2 separate regions of the Homo sapiens genome follow, and region 1 is linked to region 2. The links are contacts of gene promoters, found by promoter capture Hi-C in human tissues and cell types (Jung and others, 2019). All regions are on one chromosome and are shown on one strand. Each heading gives the region's core, a stretch centred on a gene start or on the middle of the fragment in contact. The rest is flanking DNA. Distances are from core to core; before and after follow the strand shown.

Region 1 (2,700 bases), core at 96-2,595, 780 kb after region 2:
TTTGCATACAAAAATCTATAAGTGATGGAAGCATATAATTGGGCTGCTGGTTGAGAAAGGCAGAAAGCAACAGGAGGCCATTGAGATAAAGAGGAAAAATGGTAAGAAAATTAGGCCAACTATTTGTAGTGCACTCATTTCATTTTCTTGTTTAGTTTACATTGGTTAGAAGAAGATGACATGGACTAAGTGTAAGGTGAGGTAGTGGGAGTCGAGAACAGGAAGACCACTTTAGGGTGGGGAGGTCTAGAATAAGAAGCTGAGCTTAGAATGTGATGTCTGTGTGAAAAGAACTTTAGAGATCTCCAGATTAAAAAGAGATCTCCATATTTCCTAATAAGGGGAAAAGAAAAGATATGTCCAATAAAAGAGAAATAATGGGGACTTCTAACAAATATTGATGAAGTGAAGGAATGAGACTTCCAAGACTGGGTCATAAAGGACACCACAGCTGTTCTTTGCTCTCTCAGGTCATTCTGTCTGGGGAAAGCCATCTGCCATGTCATAAGGACACTCAAGCTGTCCTGTGGAGAAGCCTACATGACAAGGAACTGAGGACTCCTTGGCAATAGCCAGTGACGAGTTTAGGCCTTTAGCCAGCAGTCGTGAGTGTGCCATTGTGGAAGCAGAGCCTTTGGCCCATAATTTTCAACCAAAGGTGATTTTATACCCCCATGGACTTGTCAATGTCTAGAGACATTTTGGTTGTCACAACTGGGAGGTGGGGGTAATACTAGCGTGTAATGGTTGGAGGCCATGGATGCTGGCCTCATAGATATATGAGGTATATATTCATCCCCAAATATCAGTAGTTCCAAGGTAAAGAAACCTGCTCAGTCCCAGTCAAGCCTTCAGATGACTGCATCCCAGTTGACATTTGGACTGCAACATTGAGGCAGGATATTTCCCTGACCTCTTCACGGGACTCACAGAGGGAGTGCCTCATTTACTCAACCCACAGTTCTTGACTCCTTGTGGGAGGAAGCACACAAGTGAGTGAGGCAGGAACTGGAGTGCAGAGGTGCTAGAACTAGCCAGCTGCTTTGGCACCAGCAGGGGTGAACTTCATTCACTTGGACCTGCTGTGATCTGCCCCTGGTGGGAGGAAGCATGCAGGTGAGTTGGTGCAGGAGCCAGGATGAGCGCTTTTAGGGTGCCAGCAGGAGTGAACTCCATTGTGGGCCCTGCAGCAGCACCTGGAGGGGGTGCCTGCAACCCATGAAGCCGCAGAGGCAGCTGCCTTCCACCGGTGAGGGCAAAGGGTCAGTGTGACAGCCTTTTTGTATCCACACTCTTGGCTCCTGAGCCCTTATCTAGCATCTAGGAGAATGGAGGTCACACGAATGAATTGAAGGATGGTAAATGAGGGGGATTTTATTGCCAATGAAAGTGGCTCTCAGCAGGAAGGGGAGCTGAAAAGGGGACAGACGAGATGGGAAGATAATCTTCCCCTGAAGACTGGCCATCTCCAGATGGATTTATCTCAGAAGTTAGGCCCTCAAGGTTTCCCTCTGAAGTCAAGCTGCTTCTCTCCTCTCCCCAATTGTAGCCTCCAACATCTAGCTGCTTCTCTTCTCTCTGCTGGCTGAGCCTGGGGTTTTTATAGGCAGAGGATGTCAGGTAGGGCAGGCCATGGGTGGTTTTGGAAAAGGCAACATTCAAGCAGGAAAACAGGGATGTCAGTTCTCACTTTGAGCTAGTCTCAGGTTTTTCGGCTTGAGGGTGGGGCTTTGACAGGGACCCACCCCTGTCTGCCTAGAATTTCTCTTCCTCCTGTCCCCATCAATGTCATGAGAGATTTTGAGCCACAGCCACTCAGTTCATCTGCTCCAGGATTTCTGACCTTTCAAATGTGTGTGAGATAATAAATGTGTTGTTTTAAGCTGCTGAGTTTTGGGTTATTTATGCAGCAATAAATAACTAATACAGCCCCCAAAATGTTTCTCTAGGGTTGGAGTAGATATTTTAAGTAACCAAATCAGGCTGGTATTTGGAGGGCATAAGAGGGACAGACAGAACATGAATAAATATTTCTGCTAAATAGCATGTTGGGCAGTAAAGTATATTTTATTATCATAGTTCATGAGACTTACCAAAGCTCAATTAGTGATGATTATAACAAGTGGCTTGTTAAAGCTGAAACTTACATGTTTCATACCTCTTGGCAGAAAGACACTGGTAACTGTCAAGATTTCCAGGAATAATTAAGAGTGCTGAATGAGGCAGCAAGGCCTTATGGAATCAGTAAGTAAAGAAAAACAGAAGTTGCATATTTACAAACTGAACAGTGAAGTGAGTAGGTGATAAATAGAGAAGCTACCAGGATAGAAGCAAGGTATGTTAGAGATGATGCTGTCATCTTTGTAAACTTTAGTGGAGGGCTCAAAGAAGAGAAGTTGAGGCTGATGTTCTGCAAATGTGACTGAATGCAAACTCCCTGGAGAGCCTGTGGAAATGCAGATTGAGGGGCTGCAGATTCTGCATTTGACTAACAAGTCCCAAGAGAAAATGAAAGAACTTGATTCTGTAGAGAGGACATTTCTTCTTGTAAGGCCTCAGAGATGAAAGGGAATTATATTGATAAGACACACATATTTGGAAGATGAGAAAAGGGATCCATTCTCATACAACTAGTTCAGGTTTTTTTTTAAAAAAAAAAACAAAGGTGGTGGGGGTGGATCACCATAATCCTGCCAAGAG
Region 2 (2,700 bases), core at 67-2,566:
TATTTACCTCTCACAAACACTTGCCTTGTAACGTGTGTACCTGTGCGTACATTTACAGGTAAAGACAATATTTTAAGGCAAGTTCACATAAATGGCTTGGAGATATCTGACAGGTCTGATTATACAAAGGTCTTCTGCTCCACCTGCATCTCTCAGGAACTCAGGCAAAGGTGGCCTTCCATCCAGCCGCACCGCCATCCGGCAGGGGAGGGCACAGGCACCCTCCCACCCGCATCCGCCCCCGCCCCCTCGCCCAGCAGCGTCAGTCTCTGACCCCACTGGATCCGTACAGGAGACGACTCACAATCGGTCGGAAGCTGCTTTTGCCCCCCCACCCCACCGCAAACGGGGGTTTGCTTGGATCATTTATCTATCTTGTGTGCATTAAGAAACCAGCATTAGCTGCTAGTGGGAGGCGCTACTCTGCCCGAATCCCAGCCCGCCGCGGCGATTCTGCACACACACACGCACCAGCCTGGCAGCCAGAGCCCGTCTGGAGACGCCCTCAGCCCGGGGTCTGCGTTCCCCGGGACCCCCGACGCAGTCTCCCGCTTCCGTCCCCCACGCTCAACCGGGCAGGGCGCCGGGGCGTGATTTCCGATCCTCTGCCTGCTTGTTGGGTCCCTCGGAGGCGGGTCAGACCGCACCCGCCGCGGGCGCCCGGTGCGCCCCCAGCCCCTGGCTCGCGGCGGCGACAGCGGCGCTGTTCGCTGGAGTTTGACTCTCCGGCGGCGGCGGCAGCGGCGCGCAGCAGCGAACGGCTGGAGCAAGGCGAGCCGGGCCGCTAGCCCTCCGCGCTGCGCTGGGATTGGTCTCTCCAGAAGAGTGCTGGCCGAGGGTTGGCTGCGGGCCGGCTGAAGAACAGGTGCACCTCACCGCCCGGGCTCGCGGAGCAGCCGCCGAAGATCGCGGCGGCCAGGCAGGCCCTCTGTGTCGGAATGCGGGTGGCGGGCACCCGGCACCCCGCGACCGGCCGCCGGGGCCACTGAAGGCGGCGCGAGGCCCAGGCGCGGCGCGAGCGGGCGCCCCAGGGAGCGGGCTGGGCGCGGTGCCCCGAGGATGTCGGCGCTCCTGGAGCGCACGCAGGCGGCGGGCAGCAGCAGCAGCAGCGGGCGCGGGGACCCGGCGCGCAGGAGGCGGCTTGGAGGGCTGCAGACGCGCCCCGCCGCTCTCTGACCGACCGGAGGCGCCGGGGGCCCGTCTCGCCCCTCTTCCGAGCTCCTTACCGCCCCCTCCCCGGCCCCGTCCCCTCCCCCGCTCCTCTCCTCCCCGCCCGCCGCCCGCCTCTCGGGGGGAGGGGCGTGGGGGCAGGGAGCGGATTTGCATGCGGCCGCCGCGGCCGCTGCCTGCGCCCGAGCCCGCCGCCGCCGCCGGAGCCCGCGCCCGCGCCCGCGCCCGGCCCGCGCGGCCCCATGCCTCTGCCGCGGCCCTCGGGGGGGCGAAGGTGAAGACCGGCTCCTAGGATGAGTGAAGGGGCGGCCGCTGCCTCGCCACCTGGTGCCGCTTCGGCAGCCGCCGCCTCGGCCGAGGAGGGCACCGCGGCGGCTGCGGCGGCGGCAGCGGCGGGCGGGGGCCCGGACGGCGGCGGCGAAGGGGCGGCCGAGCCCCCCCGGGAGTTACGCTGTAGCGACTGCATCGTGTGGAACCGGCAGCAGACGTGGCTGTGCGTGGTACCTCTGTTCATCGGCTTCATCGGCCTGGGGCTCAGCCTCATGCTTCTCAAATGGATCGTGGTGGGCTCCGTCAAGGAGTACGTGCCCACCGACCTAGTGGACTCCAAGGGGATGGGCCAGGACCCCTTCTTCCTCTCCAAGCCCAGCTCTTTCCCCAAGGCCATGGAGACCACCACCACTACCACTTCCACCACGTCCCCCGCCACCCCCTCCGCCGGGGGTGCCGCCTCCTCCAGGACGCCCAACCGGATTAGCACTCGCCTGACCACCATCACGCGGGCGCCCACTCGCTTCCCCGGGCACCGGGTGCCCATCCGGGCCAGCCCGCGCTCCACCACAGCACGGAACACTGCGGCCCCTGCGACGGTCCCGTCCACCACGGCCCCGTTCTTCAGTAGCAGCACGCTGGGCTCCCGACCCCCGGTGCCAGGAACTCCAAGTACCCAGGCAATGCCCTCCTGGCCTACTGCGGCATACGCTACCTCCTCCTACCTTCACGATTCTACTCCCTCCTGGACCCTGTCTCCCTTTCAGGATGCTGCCTCCTCTTCTTCCTCTTCTTCCTCCTCCGCTACCACCACCACACCAGAAACTAGCACCAGCCCCAAATTTCGTAAGTAAACACTGTGTCTCAACTATGATTTACTACTGAGTTTCCCTTCTGCCCTCCTGCTGTCTTTTTCCCTCGCCGCCTGTTTTCTAGCAAGCCCCCTCCCCCATCCCAGGTTTGGGGCAGAGTGAGAGCTGATTAAAACTGGCCACCAGCGGGGAAGAAGGTGCCAGCCTGCTCTGGTTCTGGGGGGGTGGGGGCGTGTAGGAACGGGAGGGAGATTGTCAGGCTCCACTGGCCCCACTTTAGCGGGTCCCAAGTGAGAACAGATCTCCCAACTCCCTTCAAAGGGTTAACGCGAGTGCGATCCCTCCTCACTGCAGACCTGCTGGCGAGCTGCCGGATCCCGCTCCAGTAGAGGGCCAGGGAGGGAGAGAGGGCCTTCCCGAAGGCACTGAGCCCCTTCTCCGCCCGCCG

The links. Contacts are between HindIII fragments. The study calls those that stand out against the background at their distance.
Region 1: a contact is called between a fragment that was not itself captured here and the fragment with the promoter of NRG3 in region 2, in 2 of the 25 tissues and cell types used here (dorsolateral prefrontal cortex and hippocampus).

What each region holds. Positions count from the first base shown.
Region 1 is chr10:82,651,002-82,653,701 of GRCh38, forward strand. All of the region lies in intron 2 of NRG3 (neuregulin 3), which reads left to right. Among named protein-coding and RNA genes, the nearest start is that of NRG3-AS1, 420 kb to the left of the region's middle. The HindIII fragment of the contact is 5,301 bases long and covers 1-2,700 here.
Region 2 is chr10:81,873,878-81,876,577 of GRCh38, forward strand. NRG3 (neuregulin 3) reads left to right here and starts at 1,317. Exons shown (of 9, transcript NM_001010848.4): 1 at 1,317-2,286. The coding sequence starts at 1,464. LOC124902549 (a long non-coding RNA gene) reads right to left here and starts at 641. Exons shown (of 2, transcript XR_007062377.1): 1 at 472-641. RefSeq lists an enhancer at 2,266-2,700. The HindIII fragment of the contact is 10,350 bases long and covers 1-2,700 here.